Linked DNA regions of Homo sapiens: regions 2, 3, 4, 5, 6 and 7 are each linked to region 1. Evidence: promoter capture Hi-C in 16 types of primary human blood cells and fetal thymus (Javierre and others, 2016). All regions are on one chromosome and are shown on one strand. The core of a region is centred on a gene start or on the middle of the fragment in contact, and the rest is flanking DNA. Distances in the headings are between cores, read along the strand shown. Region 1 holds the start of LSM8 (LSM8 homolog, U6 small nuclear RNA associated). Region 2 has its middle 5.7 kb from the start of CAPZA2. Region 3 has its middle 26 kb from the start of ST7. Region 4 overlaps LOC105375465 (a long non-coding RNA gene). Region 5 overlaps ST7 (suppression of tumorigenicity 7). Region 6 overlaps ST7 (suppression of tumorigenicity 7). Region 7 overlaps ST7 (suppression of tumorigenicity 7).

The links. Contacts are between HindIII fragments. The CHiCAGO score rates a contact against its expected background, and 5 or more counts as called.
Region 2: a contact is called between a fragment that was not itself captured here and the fragment with the promoter of LSM8 in region 1, in 5 of 17 cell types (naive CD4 T cells, naive CD8 T cells, total CD8 T cells and 2 more). The highest score is 9.7, in naive CD4 T cells.
Region 3: a fragment that was not itself captured here is called in contact with the fragment with the promoter of LSM8 in region 1 in 2 of 17 cell types (activated CD4 T cells and total B cells); the score reaches 5.6 in activated CD4 T cells.
Region 4: a fragment that was not itself captured here is called in contact with the fragment with the promoter of LSM8 in region 1 in 2 of 17 cell types (naive CD4 T cells and activated CD4 T cells); the score reaches 8.0 in naive CD4 T cells.
Region 5: a contact is called between a fragment that was not itself captured here and the fragment with the promoter of LSM8 in region 1, in 2 of 17 cell types (total B cells and total CD4 T cells). The highest score is 9.8, in total B cells.
Region 6: a contact is called between a fragment that was not itself captured here and the fragment with the promoter of LSM8 in region 1, in 1 of 17 cell types (total CD8 T cells). The highest score is 6.1, in total CD8 T cells.
Region 7: a fragment that was not itself captured here is called in contact with the fragment with the promoter of LSM8 in region 1 in 4 of 17 cell types (non-activated CD4 T cells, total CD8 T cells, activated CD4 T cells and 1 more); the score reaches 6.0 in non-activated CD4 T cells.

What each region holds. Positions count from the first base shown.
Region 1 is chr7:118,182,878-118,185,486 of GRCh38, forward strand. LSM8 (LSM8 homolog, U6 small nuclear RNA associated) reads left to right here and starts at 1,287. Exons shown (of 4, transcript NM_016200.5): 1 at 1,287-1,377. The coding sequence starts at 1,347. It overlaps LOC105375470 (a long non-coding RNA gene), which reads right to left and starts at 1,091. Exons shown (of 4, transcript XR_927904.3): 1 at 1,038-1,091. The HindIII fragment of the contact is 4,305 bases long and covers 1-2,363 here.
Region 2 is chr7:116,855,587-116,858,195 of GRCh38, forward strand. No RefSeq gene overlaps it. Among named protein-coding and RNA genes, the nearest start is that of CAPZA2, 5.7 kb to the right of the region's middle. RefSeq lists an enhancer at 1,305-1,962. The HindIII fragment of the contact is 365 bases long and covers 1,128-1,492 here.
Region 3 is chr7:116,925,869-116,928,477 of GRCh38, forward strand. No RefSeq gene overlaps it. Among named protein-coding and RNA genes, the nearest start is that of ST7, 26 kb to the right of the region's middle. The HindIII fragment of the contact is 2,714 bases long and covers 1-2,609 here.
Region 4 is chr7:116,945,332-116,947,940 of GRCh38, forward strand. LOC105375465 (a long non-coding RNA gene) reads left to right here. Exons shown (of 3, transcript XR_927895.3): 2 at 132-190; 3 at 2,311-2,586. Among named protein-coding and RNA genes, the nearest start is that of ST7, 6.9 kb to the right of the region's middle. The HindIII fragment of the contact is 1,938 bases long and covers 333-2,270 here.
Region 5 is chr7:116,967,090-116,969,698 of GRCh38, forward strand. The region is part of intron 1 of ST7 (suppression of tumorigenicity 7); the gene reads left to right. Among named protein-coding and RNA genes, the nearest start is that of ST7-AS1, 14 kb to the left of the region's middle. RefSeq lists an enhancer at 2,281-2,609. The HindIII fragment of the contact is 753 bases long and covers 919-1,671 here.
Region 6 is chr7:116,990,346-116,992,954 of GRCh38, forward strand. The region is part of intron 1 of ST7 (suppression of tumorigenicity 7); the gene reads left to right. Among named protein-coding and RNA genes, the nearest start is that of MIR6132, 29 kb to the right of the region's middle. The HindIII fragment of the contact is 1,498 bases long and covers 572-2,069 here.
Region 7 is chr7:117,007,253-117,009,861 of GRCh38, forward strand. All of the region lies in intron 1 of ST7 (suppression of tumorigenicity 7), which reads left to right. Among named protein-coding and RNA genes, the nearest start is that of MIR6132, 12 kb to the right of the region's middle. The HindIII fragment of the contact is 1,723 bases long and covers 438-2,160 here.

The DNA.
Region 1 (2,609 bases), core at 37-2,536:
GGAAGACACTTTCATTTGTTACCCTGAGAATATGAGACATTCACAATCTAATTCCTGACTACATTTGATTTCAAACAGATAGGAATAAGTTCCAGAATATAAAATATTAACTATTTGGGAGTATCTTGTGGGTATGCTCTAATTAAGAAATGCTTCCTTTTCCGAGGAAAACTGCTGACATTGCAAGAGTTATTACAAAGCCACAAATCTTAAGAAAATACATGTTTAACTGAAATTATAAAGATATTTTGCAAAAAAGGGAAATCGCTCCTGCTGGTGTTTTGTGTATAAATCTCTTTCTAACTTCAAGCTCTCTCAAGTTAGGGCAACAGTAAATGAAGTGGGAACAGTATCGCATTGGGAAATATCTGAAATGATACCTATGGGACTATCTAACGAAACTGAGGCCCAGAAGAATTGAAGTGACCTGTGCAATGACACCAATTTGTTAGCAGAGCCAAGATTAGAACCAAGTTTGGTGCCTTCCTGCATCCTTCCTGCATCGGTCCTTTCTCGGTGCTGCAGCAGCCTTTTACTTACTAATTTCACCCTGAAGAAAGGTAGACCATCCTGGCGTGGCAGAAGCGTGGACATTCGTTTTCTAAGGGATGGTCACACACCTTTGCCTATTTGCATTTAGTTTCTTTAAAAAGTAAAAACACCTCCATTTTGGAACACTTTTAGAGACAAAAGCAGAACATACGAAAGTGTATTTCACTGCTGAGTTCTTAAGAGGCGTACACCGTGTGGTTATAACGTGCGCAACTCTGTCCCGGGCAACTGAACTTATTTTTAGCGTTATTTTCGGCTTCTGCTGCAGAAAACTAGGGATTCAACTACCCGCACCTACGTTTCACACAACAGCACTCGTCTCTCTCCTTCACTCCTAATAAAAACACCTTACTTCGTTTATTCCTGCCTGCTCTACCTCGTCTCAACATTTTCTCTTGTTAACTTCCACCACACTGCCTTTTACTCGGATTGGAAACCCACTCTCCCCCAACTTCTGTCTCATACCCCCAACTTCTGTCTCATACCCCCAACTTCAGGAAGCGTCTTCCTTTTTTCCGCCTCTCGTTCGCTTTTGTCTTACGAGGCTTCCGGAACACGGCCCAGAATTACAGAGAAAACACACTGCGCACGCGCACTCTCTCGTCACCGCTGTGCGGCTTCTGTTTGGTTGGCCAGTTCGTCCCAATTTCCGACTCACAGGGCTGCGGAGCAGCAACTCTCACGATATTTGCTGCGACCCGCAGGCGCTATCCGCTGCCGGGTTCTGGCGCGCCCTTTCAGTTCTGCTTGCTGTCGGCACCGCTGCGTTACCCGGAACCGCCGGGCCGAACAGCATGACGTCCGCTTTGGAGAACTACATCAACCGTATCCTCAAGCTGGCCGCCGCGGGCGTGAGCCGGGGTCGCGGAGAGGCCGCGGTCGGGGATCGGTGGGAGGTTGGGAGGCCTGGCCTCGGCGGGATCCTGGGGGCGGGCGAGGAGATGAGGGCCCCGGAACGACCCAGAGTTCGCCGGCGGCGCCTCGAGCCTTCCCGCTGCTGCGGGCCCAGGGGTCCTTTCCATTTTGCCTGCAAAACCCAAATAAAAACCCAGTGTGATTATTCCGAACTTTTCTGTCTTAAAAAAAATGTACGCTCTTGATTCTTACTTACTATTTCCCTATGGCATAAGTGTTAAAGTTTGTGAATAAGATGAACAGTCGTCCTGGCGGCGACAACAGTTTTGCAAATCTTTGTACTTGTTTTATTCACATAATTTGCTCGTTCGAGGATAGCAAAAAGTTTAACGATGGTTCACAGACTGTTTCTGTCCCTTTACCACTTGAAGTCCCAACTTGTTGGTAGAATGAAAAAAAATGGTTGCTGTTGTAATGGATTATAGTGAGGAGCAAGTAACAACCCCATGGGAAGTCTTAAAATAGACTTTACAAGTGTTACCGTTTTAAAGTCTTAGGACAAAAACACTACGTTAAGCTCAGGTACAAACTGGGTGACAAAAATTAAATACCGAATGCTTTTAATGATGCGTTATTGGTACCCTGTGACACTGCTTATATAGTTTCTTTACTTTTGAATTACAGAAGCCTGTCCTGGAAGACAGTTTTTTAACATGCTGGAAAATCGTCCAACATCGATTAATTTAGTACTCATCCACTTTTCATTTTAGAAATAAACAGGCCTAAGAAACGAAATATCCTGCCTGAAATAATAGATTGGTAACCTTCCTAGTAGAAAAGTGTCAAAAATCCAGGATATTTTGAGATAAGATACACCGATCACATACAGAAAGAGGTTTTCTTTTTCTATTTTTTCCCTTTTTTAATCATGTAATTATCACAAAGACAAAAACAGAAGCTTTTTTTAAGTTTTTTTTTTTTTTTCTTTTTTTGAGTCGAGGGTCTCACTCTGTTGCCCAGGCTGGAGTGCAGTGGCTTGATCATGGCTCAATGCAACCTTGAACTCCTGAGCCCAAGCAATCCTCCTGCCTCTGCCTCTGCCTCCTGAGTAGCTGGGACTATAGGTCACCAGGCCAGGGTAATAGAGATGGGGGTATCGCTGTGTTGCCCAAGCTGGTCTCACCTCAAGTGATCCTCCTGCC
Region 2 (2,609 bases), core at 60-2,559, 1.3 Mb before region 1:
TAAAGATACTGGATCTGTCTTTTCACTCCCTACCAGCAAATCTATGCATTGTGTTGCTTCATCTTTCCAGGTCAAGAGTCTGACTTATCTTTTCATTTATGCCCCACAATTTACACTGCCATATAGGGAGATTTTTAAAAAGACAGTAATTAGTCTAAAGATCTCTATCCATGTTGTTTACAAAAATATGCAAAAAAATTCCTTTCTTTCTTTCTTTCTTTCTTTCTTTCTTTCTTTCTTTCTTTCTTTCTTTCCTTCTTTCTTCCTTCCTTTCTCTCTCTCTCTTTCTTTCTTTCTTTTTTTGAGACAGAGTTTTGCCCTCGTTGCCCAGGCTGGAGTGCAATGGCACGATCTCGGCTCATAGCAACCTCTGCCTCCCGGGTTCAGGCAATTCTCCTGCCTCAGCCTCCTGAGTAGCTGGGATTACGGGCATGTGCCACCACACCCAGATGATTTTGTACTTTTAATAGAGGCGGGTTTTCTCCATGTTGGTCAGGCTGGTCTCGAACTCCCGACCTCAGGTGATCCGACCGCCTCAGTATCCCAAAGTGCTGGGATTACAAGCGTGAGCTACCATGCCCAGCCTCATAAATATTTTTAAAGTTAGGTACCACATTAGGCAGATAAAAAGGAGTGTTCCTGTGTTGAAAAAGAAGCAACATACGTGGAAATGATAAACATGAGATTCAGGTTGGTGGTTACCTGAAGGAAGAAGAAAAGGGAATGGGAACTGGAAGAATTAAACCATGCTTTTTTGTATGCCTGAAATGTTGTGTAACAATAATTCAAATAAGTAAATGAAAATAGAGGCCAGGCATGGGGGTTCCTGCCTGTAATCCCAGCACTTTGGGAGGCTGAGGCAGGAAAGATCACTTGAGTTCAGGAATTCAAGACTAGCCTAGGCAACATAGCAAAACCCCCTGTCTACGAAAAATTTTAAAAACTTGCCAGGTGTGGTGTTGCACGCCTGTAGTCCCAACTAGTCAGGTGGCTGAGGTGGGAGGATCACTTGAGCCCAGGAGATGGAGGCTACAGTGAGCTATGATCACGCTGCTGCACTCCAGCTTGGGTGACAGAGCAAGTCTTGTCTCCAAAAAAAAAAAAAAAAAAAAGCAGAAGAAAATACAAGCTTTAGTATTTCCTTGCTTCACCCTAAAGGATCATTTTGAATACTCCCTGTCCCCTGTACTTTGTTTGGGACATGGTATGAAGATACTAAAGGCTTGAACTTATAGTGACAGGAGAATTAAAGAGTAAGAAATCAACTAGGGAGATATTTAAGTGGTGACTGAATATGGAGTAGTAAAGACTTGGAGATATTGGTATGATTTTGAGGTTTTTGGGAAAAAATTGTTCACTTTCCCATTCTGGAGTCCCCAGTCCACATTTTAGAACAATCTCTAAATCCCGTATGTGTTGCTAAATCAACTTTTCAGCTCTCATTTAGGGATGCGAAATAAAAGTGTCGTTTAATCAATATGCATTCCAACAAAGCTTTTTTAAGCATTTATTTGCCAGACATTGTATGTGCCAGACATGTCCTTAAAGACCAAATTGGTATTATAATATGATGATAATAGCTAATATTTATTGAGACTTTTACTAAGGCCTGCACTGTGTGCTAAGCACTTTGCCTGCATTGTCTTGTTAAATCCTCACAGCAGCCCTACAAAGGTGGTACTATTGTTATCCCTAATGTATAGATGAAGAAATGCAAGCCTGCAGAGTAAGTTCCTTAAGGTTAACTAGAGCTAGAACGAAGATCAGAATCCAGGATTTAGTGATGATAAAATCTGTATACCTCATCACTGGTATATACAACAAAAATCAATGGAAAAGTTTCTATGGTAATCTAGAAGAAATTATTAGCTTAGCTAGAGGATTCAATGAGAGTTTCAAAGAAAACCGATAACAGAATTTTAAAGGATAGGTAGCAAACAACATTCCAGAAAGCTTTGACAGAAGCCTGAGAGCATATGATATATATGCAGCTTTGTGTGTTTCAATGACATATGCATTCAGGGGCAGTGGCAGAGGTGGGTCTGGTGAGGTTGGTAGGAAGGAAATTAGGAAGGATAGCACGTTCGGGACGGAGGAGGGGTTGAAAAAGAAGTGTTGGCTGGGCGTGGTGGCTCACGCCTGTAATCCCAGCACTTTGGGAGGCTGAGGCTGGTGAATCATGAGGTCAGGAGATCGAGACCATCCTGGCCAACATGGTGAAACCCCGTCTCTACTAAAAATACAAAAATTAGCCGGGTGTGGTGGCACACACCTATAATCCCAGCTACTCAGGAGGCTGAGGCAGAAGAATCACTTGAACCTGGGAGGCAGAGATTGTAGTGAGCAGAGATGGCAGCCCGGCACTCCAGCCTGGCAAGAGAGCAAGGCAAGACTCCATCTCAAAAACAAAAAAAAAGAAAAAAAGAAAAAGAAAAAGAAGAAGAAGGTCTTCAATAATTCCTGAGTAACTCTAGAATGATCTACGTCAGGCTTCTCCAGGGGCACTACTTGTGTGTACCTTTTCAAAACTAGCTGAGGAAATGGACCGCAGGTATACACTCAACTATAAATAACTTAAGCAATTATTTGTTTAGAAAGATAATTACTTT
Region 3 (2,609 bases), core at 72-2,571, 1.3 Mb before region 1:
ATCAAACTTCCCTGTATAGTCAAAAGTAAAATTCCTTAATACATTAATAAAGAATACTACATTATGATCAAGTATGGTTTATCACTGGAAACCAATGATTGTTCCCTGTTAGGAAATCTAGTACAGTAGCCTCCTATATTAGCATATTAAAGAAAAGCACATATAATTCTCTGAGAAAATATCATTAAACCATTTGATAAAGTTTAGTCCCTAATCCTCACTTTAAGGGCAGCATCTCAAATCAATGGGGCAACAGATGAATGATGCTGAGACAACAGGGTAGCCAGCTGTGGGAGAAAAGTTGGATCTATACCTCATACCTTACACCAAGTTAAAATTGCACCAAAGATTTAATGATATAAAATGATATTGGCCACGTGCGGTGGCTCACACCTGTAATCCCAGCACTTTGGGAGGCCGAGGCAGGCGGATCACTTGAGGTCAGGAGTTGGAAACCACCCTGTCCAACATGGTGAAACCCCGTCTCTACTAAAAGTACAAAAATTAGCCGGGTGTGGTGATGGGTTCCTGTAATCCCAGCTACGGAGGTTGCAGTGAGCTGAGATTGCGCCACTGCACTCTAGCCTGGGTGACAGAGCGAGATTCCATCTCAAAAAAAAAAAAAAAAAGATATCATAAATGTTCTTGAAGAAATGGTATTTTTTAAGTAATAGCAATATCAGAATAATTTTAGAAAAAACCCTTAGAATCCATTCAATAAAAATAAAAATGTATTTGGCTGGGTGCAGTGTCTCATGCCTGTAATCCCAGCACTTTGGGAAGCCAAGGTGGGCAGATCACTTGAGTTCAGGAGTCCGAGACCAGCCTGGCCAACATGGTGAAACCCCGTCTCTACTAAAAAATACCAAAATTATCCAGGCATGGTGGTGGGTGCCTGTAATCCGAGCTACTTGGGAGACTGAGGCAGAAGAATCGTGTGAACTCGGGAGGCGGAGGTTGCAGTGAGCCAAGATCGTGCCACTGCATTCCAGCGTGGACAACAGAGTGAGACTCCATCTCAAGAAAAAAAAATATATATATACTTCATAAAAATTAAGATTTTCTACATGGCTTAAAATGCTCTAAACAAAGTCAGAAGACATCATTCACAAGGGAAAACATTTGCAACTTACCTAACAGGTGGTTACTTTTTCAAAAATCTAATGAGTACCTACAGCACAATAACATAAGAGTCCTATAGAAAATTGAAAAGCATGGGCCAGGCGTGGTAGCTTACACCTCTAATCCCAGCACTTTGGGAGACTGAGGTGGGAGGATCACTTGAGCCCAGGAGTTCACAGTCAGCCTGGGCAACACTGTGAAACTCTCTTGTGTCTATAAAAAAAAAAAAAAAAAAAAAAGAAAGAAAGAAAATTGAAAAGCAGTGCCTATGGCACCTGAGCTCCTGACATTATGGAGAGCCTTACCAAACTTGAACTTCCTCACTGGACATTTATTGAGAAATAAACATATTTAAGCCACTGCTCTTTGGAATGTATTTTATTTCTTATCACCCCTGCCACCCCTGCAACCCCTGCCTCTCACCCTATATAGCATTTAGTGCCAGAAATAGGATCCTGCAAGTATCAAAATCTGAAGTGTGGCATTGGTTAAAGGCAATGTAAGTCAACAGGGGTTCTGCTGACATCTGAGTCCACTACAACGTGCAAGACTGTTCTCCTCTATCCCTAGACACTAAATGCTACTGACACCTCCTAATCCTTGTAACAGTCAAAAATAATGCCCTAGAGGAAGGGAATATTACTCCAGTGACTAGGGGGATTTAGTAGGGCCTAGATATTGCAGGCTGGAAAGCTGGTGACCCTTGTTAGGCCATGATAAAACATTGAAATTATTGCCTCAAGTAAGTAGATTGACATGACAATAGGAAAGATGGCAGGGAAGACTCAGAATGGAAGAAAGGAATTAGCAGCCATACTGAACTCCTCCTCTCTTGTCTGGGTTATTTGAGGAGACATTTGAGCCCAGCAGAACTTCTTACAACTTCAAATTTTGCAAGGATTGCCCTGCTGGGTGCAGTGGCTCACACCTGTAATCCCAGCACTTTGGGAGGCCGAGGCAGGCAGATTACTTGAGGTCAGGAGTTTAAGACCAGCCTGACAAACATGGCAAAATTCCATCTCTACTAAAAATACAAAAAAATTAGCCAGGCGTGGTGGCGTGCACCTGTAATCCCATCTACTCAGGAGGCTGAGGCAGGAGAATCACTTGAACTGGGAGGTGGAGATTAAATGAGCAGAGTTAGCTACACTCCAGCCTGGGCAACAGAGCGAGACTCCATCTCAAAAAAATAAAAAAATAAAAATGTTTCCAAGTCCACTGAACTGGACTGTCAAGATCCTTCTTTCTCTCACTTGTAATTTGTGGACTGTAGGTCCAAAGTGATAACATTACCCAGGAGAAGGTTAAAGGTAGAGATGAGAATAAGTGTATTGCCCTTCCCCCAAGCCCACTGTCATAGAAAATATATTCATTTTCTATTGCTGTATAACAAGTGGTCACAAAGTTAGGTCTTAAAATAATGCAACCTTATTATCTCACAGTTCTCATGGGTTCAGGCACATGTCAGCTGTGTCCTCTGTTCATGG
Region 4 (2,609 bases), core at 52-2,551, 1.2 Mb before region 1:
AGGCTACAATTAATATTAAAAATACAATTAATTTAGGTTGCTGTGGGCAATCACTTTACTTAATATTAGCCTGAAATGTACTTTAAGATAAAAATAATCTGGCTCTTCTTTCTTTCCTTTTTTTGGATTAGGTTTCCGCAGAGGCCAAATATACCAGATGACTGTGAAATTTTCACTTTAATTTGCATGCGTAAGTATAGTCTTGGATATTAGAAATGAGAAAAAATGAAATGTAACTGATCAAGTGTAAGGGAATACATCCTGATTAAGAGAATAGAATCAATTTTCGGAAATCTAGGAGTAAATGCTCTGTGTCAATAGAAACAAATTTAAGCTTACATCATGGCCAGCAGATTTTAAAAATTTCTACTGATAATTCTATAACATAAGTTTAACCTGCTTTCTGACTTTTTTAATGCAAAAGGTTGTTTAATTGACTTGTCTAAATCTGTCAGGTATTTTGGAGGTTCATATGCATGAACTTGACATTAAAAGCCAAAACCAGACAACAGCATGCTATGCACATGGGAAGTAAATAGATAGCATATGATTTTTGTATTTGGCTTCGAATCATTTAAAGTGATGGTTATCACTAGTGCCAGGTATTTTTGATATCATGTAATTTTTCGAAGTGATATCTAGATGTGGCTCTGGTTCCTGAAATCTTAGCCAGTTATGGACCAAAAAATGCAGTTTTAAAATAAAGTAATAAAATTAGCATAGTTTTTTTTTTTTTTTTGGACAGAGTTTCACTTTGTCCCCCAGGCTGAAGTGAGTGCAGTAGCGCAATCTCGGCTCACTGCAAGCTCTGCCTCCCGGGTTCACGCCATTCTCCTGCCTCAGCCTCCCGAGTAGCTGGGATTACAGGCGTCCACCACCACGCCTGGCTAATTTTTTGTATTTTTAGTAGAGACGGGGTTTCACCATGTTAGCCAGGTTGGTCTCGATCTCCTGACCTCGTGATCCGCCCACCTCGGCCTCTCAAAGTGTTGGGATTACAGGCGTGAGCCACCACGCCCGGCCAATATTTTACATATGCAGAATATTTTAGACAAAGGATTTTTATTTTGATTAAAAGTGCTATACAAATAAAAAATAAAAATAAAACCTCTTGGGTTTGAGTGTCAAGAAATTAAAAAATGTATACCATTACATTTCCACACTATTTAAAGTGCAACTGACAAACTGCCCCATCTTAGAGTATTTTCCCAAGAGTAAAGAGGGTGAGTACCAGAGTAAAGAATAAATAGAGTAATTAAAGAAAGTGGGTAATATTGTTACCTTTCATGATTAGTTAGCCTAAGAAGCAAGAGAGCTGGCCGAACTTTAGAGGGTTCCTTAAAATAAATTTCTGGTCTTTTTGTTGAACACATCTGATCTATCTGTTGTCTCTAAGATTTTTTTTTTAATCTCATCCATCTTCCTCTGGTCTTGTCTCCTGATATTTTAGCAGTGTAAGGGAGAGGCTATGTTCACTTCTCTACTTCTTTCCAAAGAAATTTTCTTTTTTCTTTTTCTTTGAAAATAAGAAAACATCTTTCATTGGCTGGGGCAGGGTTTTAGGGTGGAGAAAGCATTAGGTTGCTTTCAGATTTTTTATACAAGGCTCCGATTGTTTTATTTTTTATATTATTATTATTATTATTATTTTGGAGACAGAGTCTCACTCTGTTGCCCAGGCTGGAGTGCAGTGGCATGATCTTGGCTCACTGCAACCTCCGCCTCCCAGATTCAAGTGATTCTCCTGCCTCAGCCTCCGGAGTTTCTGGGCTTACAGGCATGTGCCATCACGCCTGTCTAATTTTTGTGTTTTTAGTAGAGACAGGGTTTCACCATGTTGGCCAGGCTGGTCTCCTATTCCTGACCTCAGGTGATCCATCCGCCTCAGCCTCCCAAAGTGCTGGGATTACAGGAGTGAGCCACCACGCCCCACCTGATTATTTTATTTTGTATTCTTGCTTTTAGAATTATTCCGTATATCAACACAGCTGGTCTTATTACAATAATTTTGATATTTTAAACAAATCAGTGATGCTAAGGAACGTCACTGAGTGTTGACATGTCTGTGAAAGCCTTTATATGGAAACTAAGATATCTTTGTTAGGAATGGGGAAACAAAGGTAAATGTGATAATAATGTATCATAATGTCTCAACTTAGTCATTGTGAATCTCTCACTGTCAGATTAAGATGTACATGCAGTGTATGTTAATTACGGAAATGCATTCTGCCTTATACATGCAGAATTATATCTTAGAGAACTTCTCCCCAAGCTTTTTGCTAACCAAATCATCTTTTCAACTATATACAGGTCTTTGAAAGTCCATCTCTTCAATATTTTATGACAGAGTGTGTTGACTTGAAGAAGTTAGAAATGGCAAATTCCCTTCCAAACCTGTTTTTCTGCTCTTACTATATCTCTAAACTAAACATGTTGGATTTGCACTTATTCGGGTCTAGGTAAGTCACTAAATAAGGATAATCAGTTATGTAGGATGTTATTCATGAGTATAGAATATTGACCAATTCAAAAACCCAACCAGTGAACATGGATGAGATTTTTTAAATAAAAACCAACAAGTCAGAACAGTTATTTCTTGTGTTTAAATT
Region 5 (2,609 bases), core at 45-2,544, 1.2 Mb before region 1:
ACTTTGCTATTTGTGAGTTTCTATCACTCTTTTTTTTTTTTTTTGCCACTAATTGCAAAATAACTCATATAAACCTGGGTTTCTCAAGCAATGTTCTCCTAGATGTGTAGGACGAAGGCTATATTGGTATGAATAGGTAGTAATTCTGAGCCTGTTCTGGAAGACCCCATTCCCCTGCAGAGTTTGGTAGGGCTCACATACCCGCAGTGGTGGTGGCCATTAATGACCAATTCTGCCTTTGAGTGCTCCACTTGCGCTACTCTCACTTCTGGCTCCTGGTGCTTAGGACTGCTGTCCCCTCTCCCTGCCTTACCAGTTCCTATTGTGGACATTAAGGAGTGAATTTGGTCAGGCAGCTTGTGCAGGTCAGTGTCCCAGAGGCAGGTCTACAGCTCTAGCGGGTCCAGTCCCAGTGGACCTTTCTGCTAATTGTGTCCAGCCTTTCCATTCTTGAATTACTGACCTGCGATAAAAAATGATGGCGCCCTTACCACATTCTAGCAAAAAGGTCAACAGTCATTTACCAGTTCTGTGATCTTAACACTAGTTACCTTGTTTATAACTGAGCATGATAATGATGAGTACCTCATAGGACTGTTAGGAGGATTAAATGAGATACTATGAAAAAAGCCTTAACCAGTGCCAGCACTTGCTAGTGCTCAATACATTTTAGATATTTACTTGTAGTTACTGTTGTGGCTCCTACTATAATATTGACTTTGTTTTGTACTTCTTGGTGTCTAACTCAATCAGCTTTTTCTCTTAAGTCAGTTTCTAGACTGATAGTTCTTTTTAAATGCATCTGTTCTTCATTTTCATAGTTACATGTATGTCCTCTGTAGGTTTTCTGTTTCCATTCAGTTTTGGGGTGAAATATGATAGCAGCATGAGGAGCTCCACTCCTGGTCTAAATGAATAAGCTTATATTATCTCTTTCTTAACTTTGCTCCTTAACTCTTTGTATTCTGTTACCTGCTTTCATAATTTTCCTGGAACTTCTTAAACCTCATTGGTAATTTCAAAGCTAAATTTCATTAATCATTTCTCAGATTTTGTTCATACTGATTCGTTGCACTATAAAAAAGGATTTAAATTTTTTTTCTAATATTCACTTTTTTTGTTTTGTTTTACAAATTCTCCTCCCTATCCCCTCCCCTACTTCCCTCTCTCCCTCCCTCCCTCCCTCCCTCCCTCCCTCCCTCCCTCCTTCCTTCCTTCCTTCCTTCCTTCCTTCCTTCCTTTCCTCCCTCCCTCCCTCCCTCCCTCCTTCTTCCTTCTTCTTCCTTCTTTTTGCTTCTTCTTGAGACAGTGTCTTACTATGTTGACCGTGCTGGACTCGAATTCCTGGGCTCAAGCAATCCTTCTGCCTCAACCTTCTGATTATTTCGACTACGGGTGTGCGCCACCATGCCTGGCTTAGAAAAGGACTTTATGTTGAACCTCTTTTCTCTTACAATCAAATAATAAATTCATTGAGTCATACTATTAGCGAGTCGCAGTGCTTGGTGCGGGTGTAGAGGAATGGAATGATGACCAAGACATGGTCCCTGTCTTCAGTATCTTGAGATATTGAGCACTCAGGGAAAGAAAAATGGGCACAAAACTATAATGCAAAGTAAAATGTGTAGAGCACAAAGGAGAAATAAATACCAAAACAAGGGGATGAGAGAAAGCTTTCAAATCATAGTGGTAGTTACTGGAATAACTTTAGGAATTCCCAGGCTGCTTGGAGAATATGAGAATGTGCATCTGCTTGGTCCCTTCAGAAAACTGTCAGTGTGACAGATGGGAGGGTGAAAAAGAGGGAAAAGCTAGAATCTGTTGGGGTTAAATTGGAGTTCATTTTGAAGCATTAAAAATAATTGAAATTCTGATATATTTTACCTGTATAGAAAGGGACAGGAAATAATATGAGAAATAATAATAGTGGGGTGACCCATCATCCATATTTAACGTTTGTTAACATTTCGCCACAAGTGTTCATATTGCTTTCTCTCTCTTTTTCAAAAAAACTATTTTTTAGAACCCTTTTAGATGTGGCAGTTTTTCAGACTTTCCTTGTTTTTGATAACTTTACAATTTTGAGGAGTATCATATCTCCCTACAATCCTCTTGCATGTGGCAGTTTTTCAGACTTTCCTTGTTTTTGATAACTTTACAATTTTGAGGAGTATCATATCTCCCTAGAATCCTCTTGGATGTGGCAGTTTTTCAGACTTTCCTTGTTTTTGATAACCTTAACAATTTTGAGGAGTACCAGTCAAGAATTTTTTAGACTATCGCTTAATTGAGATTTGTTTGATATTCTTCTTATGATTTTCTGGGATTTTGAGTTTTTGGGAGGAAGACCACAGAGGTCAAGTGCCATTTTTGTCATGACATAATACCAACTTATCACTGTTGATATTGACCTTGATCCCCTGGCAGAGAGAGTGTTGATCAGGTTTCTTCACTGTAAAGTTACCCTTTACTTCCTCATACTGTGCTCTTGGGAAGGAGTTCGCTTTGCACAGGCTGCACTTAAGGAATGAAGCTTTGTTTCCTCTTGTGGAAATAAATGAGGACCATCTAAATGAGAACAAGTAAAGGCTATTTATTCAAAGCCTCCC
Region 6 (2,609 bases), core at 71-2,570, 1.2 Mb before region 1:
ATTCTGGGTAAACTCATTCCTTTTACTTTTGACTAGCTCTGCTTGTGCCTAGGAATCAATCCCCTTCCTCTAAGGGGTTAGTGTTGTTTTGTTTTGTTCTGTTGTATGCACACAGGGGAAACAACATTTTAAAAAATGTTATAATGGTCCAGGTTGTTATAATTCCACTGAAAAAAATAAAAGATGGTAGAAGTTAGGTGGATTACTTTCTCTTTGTGATATAATTTGCAGTATACAAGCATAGGTTGAACTATCTATTCTGTGTACTTTCCTTTAGAAAGCTGCATACCCATACTCTTTTCAGGTTTCTAATTAAATGTCACCTTCTAAGTTCAGCTTTCCATGACCCTTTAAAATTGTAAATCCCCTTCCATACCCATCTATATACCTGGCACTGACTGTTCCTTTTTCTTGCTTTGTTACTATTTTTTAGTTGCACTTACCATTATCTGACACACCATATACTTTACTAATGTCTTTCCCTCCCCAAAATGAGAATGGAAAATTTAAAAAGTAGACTTTAAAATTAATGTAACATTCATACAGAAAAGAGCAGATATTCTAAGTTTAAAGCTTGGTGAATTTTCATTAAGTGACACATAGATTTGATTACCGTGTCCCAGATCAAGAAACAGAACATTACCAGTACTGAGAGGCCTTCCATATGCCCCTTCCTATCACTAACCCTGACCCAAATCCCTCCTCAAAGGTTTGTTCGTTCTCGTTGCATTGGTTTGCATAGTACTCCATTGTATGATCACATTTTATTTATCTATTATACTTTTGATGTATATTTGGGTGGTTTCCAGTTGGACCTATTATGAATAGTTAGTATTTTGTTTTGAAAAAGCCTGAAAGGTTCCTAGGCTACTACTTTTTCCACCCTGACACATGCCTCCTTTGAGGCATTAAGCAGGGCTCTCTGCTTGAATGTGGGGAGGCAGAAATGTTATTCAGCCATGTATTAGTCTGTTTTCATGCTACTGATAAAGATATGCCCAAGACTTGGAAGAAAAAGAGGTTTAATTGGACTTACAGTTCCTCATGGCAGGGGAGGCTTCAGAATCATGGGGGGAGGCAAAAGGCACTTCTTACATGGTGGCGGCAAGAGAAAATGAGGAAGATGCAAAAGCAGAAACCCCTCATAAAACCATCAGATCTTGTGAGACTTGTTCACTACCAAGAGAACAATATGGGTGAAACCGCCCCCATGATTCAAATTATCTCCTACTGACACCCTCCCACAACACGTGGGAATTAGAAGAGTACAATTCAAGATGAGATTTGGGTGGGGACACAGAGCCAAACCATATCATTTCACCTCTGGCCTCTCCAAATTTCATGTCCTCACATTTCAAAACCAATCATGCCTTCCCAACAGTCCCCCAAAGTCTTAACTCATTTCAGCATTAACCCAAAAGTCCACAGTCCAAAGTTACATCTGAGACAAGGCAAATCCCTTCTGCCTATGAGCCTGTAAAGTCAAAAGCAAGCTAATTACGTCCTAGTACAGATGTTGGGTAAATACAGCCATTCCAATGGGAGAAATTGGCCAAAACAAAGGGGTTACAGGGCCCAACCAAGTCTAAAATCTAGTGGGGCAGTCAAATTTTAAAGCTCCAAAATGATCTCCTTTGACTCCAGGTCTCACATCCCGGTCACACTGATGCAAGAGGTGGGTTCCCATGGCCTTGGGCAGCTCTGCCCCCATGGCTTTGCAAGGTACTGCCTCTCTCCCACTGCTTTCATGGGCTGGTGTTGAGTGTCTGTGGCTGTTCCAGGTTCATGATGCAAACTGTAGGTGGAGCTACTATTCTGGGGTCTGGAGAACAGTGGCCCTCTTTTCACAGCTCCACTAGGCAGAGCACCAGTAGGGACTCTATGTGAGGGCTCTGACCCTTCATTTCCCTTCTGCACTGCCCTAGCAGAGGTTCTCCATGAGAGCCCTATACCTGCAGTGAACTTCTGCCTGGGCATCCAGGCATCTCCATACGTCTTCTGAAATCTACGTGGTTTCCCAAACCCCAATTCTTGACTTCTGTGCATCTGCAGGTTCAACACCATGTGGAAGCTTCCAAGGCTTGGGCTTGCATCCTCTGAAGCCATGGCCTGAGCTTTATACTGGCCCCTTTCAGTCACGGCTGGAGCAGCTGGGATGCAGGGCACAAAGTCCCTAGACTGCACACAGCACGGGACCCTGGCCCCTGCCCATGAAACCATTTCTTCCTCCTAGACCTCCAGGTCTGTGATGAGAGAGGCTGCCGCAAAGGTCTCTGACATACCCTGGAGACATTTTCCCCATTGTCTTGGAGATGAACATTCGGCTCCTCATTACTTATGCAAATATCTGCAGTTGGCTTGAATTTCTCCTCAGAAAATGGGATTTTCTATTGGCATTGTCAGGTTGCAAATTTTCTGAAGTTTTATGCTCTGCTTCCCTTTTAAAATGGAATGCTTTTAACAGCACCCAAGTCACCCTTGAATGCTTTGCTGCTTAGAAGTTTCTTCTGCTGGATACCCTAAATTATCTCCCTTAAGTTCAAAGTTCCACAAATCTCTTAGGCAGGGGCAAAGTGCCGCCAGTCTCTTTGGTAAAACATAATAAGAGT
Region 7 (2,609 bases), core at 49-2,548, 1.2 Mb before region 1:
ACACAAATGTAACAGAATGAAACAGCTTTATTGCTTATATGGAGAAAGTTAGAGTGGTCTGATAGAAAATCAAACCAGCCATAACATTCCCTTAAGCCGAAGTCTAATTTAGAGCAAGGAACTCTCTTTAATTTCTTCAGGGGTTCTATGAAGGCTGAGAGAGGTGAGGAAGCTGCAGAGGAACGCTTTGAAGCTAGCAGAGGTTGGTTTATTTGGTTTAGTGAAAGAAGCCATCTGCATAACATAAAAGTGCAAGGTAAAGTACAAGTGTTAATGTAGAAGCTGCAGCAAATTATCAAGAAGGTCTAGCTGAGATACCTGATGAAGGTGGCTACACTCAACAACAGATTTTCAGTGTAGGTGAAAACAGTGTTATATTGGAGGAAGATGCCATCTAGGCCTTTCATAGCTGGAGAGAAGTCAATGCCTGGCTTCAAAGCTTCACAGGACAGGCTGACTGTCTTCTTAGGAGCTCATGCTCACATTGCCATGCAACCAGTCTTCAGAATTCTTTTCATTTTACGAAACTGAAGTTCTGTACCCATTAAACAACTCCCCATTTTCTTCTTCCTCCTGCCTCTGGCAATCACCATTCTACTTTCTGTCTCTATGAATTTGAAGTCTATAGTTGCACAGGCACAAATGTCTGTCTCTAGAAACATTTTCCAAGTAATACACTTCACTACATTTTCTCTTAGAATCACCTATATCTGTGTTAAAACTGTAAGAATCTGTGTTAAAATTTTAAGAATGTAGCAGTTGTCTTGATTAGAAATATATTTTCAATAGCCTTTCAAAAAACCAGAGACAAAAAAGCAGAGAGGAAATTATCTGCTTCTTATCTGAAGGCTAATGACAAAAAAAGTCATCCATGTGAACTTTAATAGAAATCTGCCGAAACCCTTAATGAGGTAGGTATCATGATCAGCGTAACTCATTACAGAATTGTTGTATTTTAGAGCTAGAAAAAAACCTCAGAAATAATTTTAAGTTCTTCATTTCATAAATGAAGTGATACTGTTGTGAAATGTCTAACCAAATTAATTAACTGTGCAGTTAGGATTGTAGTCTGTTTCTTGTTTCTCAAGAATTCCCTTTCAGCAATTGTTGGTGAACAGGGTCAGATTTTCTCAGACAAACTAGCTATTACTTGTGTTCTACACTATGAGTATGTTTTATAGAAAGTTTTCCTGGCTTATAATATAATTGAAGAGACTTGGAAATCTTAGCCCATGATTTCCATTTTTATATAATCTTCAAGGGCTAGAGATGTATGTGGATTGGAGGTATGTGGTTTTCCTTATCTGGGAAAGTAGTTGACAATTTCTCAGAAATTGAGCATTTATCACCAGTTCTAATGTGATAGGGAATGAGGTATTGTTCATAGTATCATCAGAAATGAAGGGAATTGGGATGAAACTTTTCTTGAATTTCTGACCCTGATGCAATCAGGCAGTTGTTGATGGATTCCATTATCTTCGTGAGTCTTGTCAATGGCAGAGACCTAATTGAAGATTAGAGCTCTTGCAGAGAAAGGTCAAATCAACCACAGTAAATATTGTTGAACAGGGTTTGGCAAACTGTAGCCCATGGGCTGCCTGTTTCTGTGAGATTTATAAGCTAACTTTTTTTTTAACATTTTTAAATCGCTGAAAAATTTTCAAAAGAATACGTCATGATATGTGAACATTACAAGAAATTTAATTTCAAAGTTTATAAATAAAGTTTTATTGGAACATGGCTACATTAATTTATGTATTGTTTATGACTATTTTTGCACTGAAACAATAGAGTAGTTGTGACAGAGAACAGATGGTCCCACAAAATCTAAACTGTTTACTATTTGGCCCTTTATAAAAAGGATTTGCCAGCTCCTGCTAGAAAACATTGAGAATGATTTGTTTTGTAGTACCATGGAAATTTGTGATCTTCTTTGCTTACCTAGAACTGCAGCTGTATGCTACAGCTAAGAAATTCCTTAAAGAACTTCTCCACTTTTTTTTTGTTTTTTTTTTTTTGTTTTTGGCCTCTGGGACAACCCACACTAGTCCATTCATGACTATTTTTTATGACTTTCTTTGCTTATTTTCCAGTGGTTCCTTTTGCCAATCATGTGAACAGACCAAAACCACACAGGAAGGTCTGTGGTTTGCCTAAAGAAGCTTTTCTACAGAGGGATATGTCTGGCTTGGGTACCTCCCTGTTTGTTGTACAAACCTATAGTTTGATTCTGATCATTACACTAGAGCTTTGATTCAAATGTATATAAAATGACCATCACTGTCAGGATGTAAAATGAATAAGCATATTTATTGTTGGATTCATATTTGTAGGACGAAAATCTTAATCTTTCTTATTTTTATCAGGCATTTTAGTAACTTTAGTAATGTTTCTCATGACTGCTAATTATACATCAAGATTAATTGCTATATTTTTTTTTAATTGGCTAACCTTAAACACATAAACCCAATGTCCTTTTTTATAGTCATCTTCTGATAGAGTTAAAACATCAGTGATAGGGAGACCACACAGCACCTCTTATAAAAGTTATTTACCTCCTTTTTCCAGCTGTGGTTACTTGATTTTAGTTCTCTTGAGGCCACTGTAAG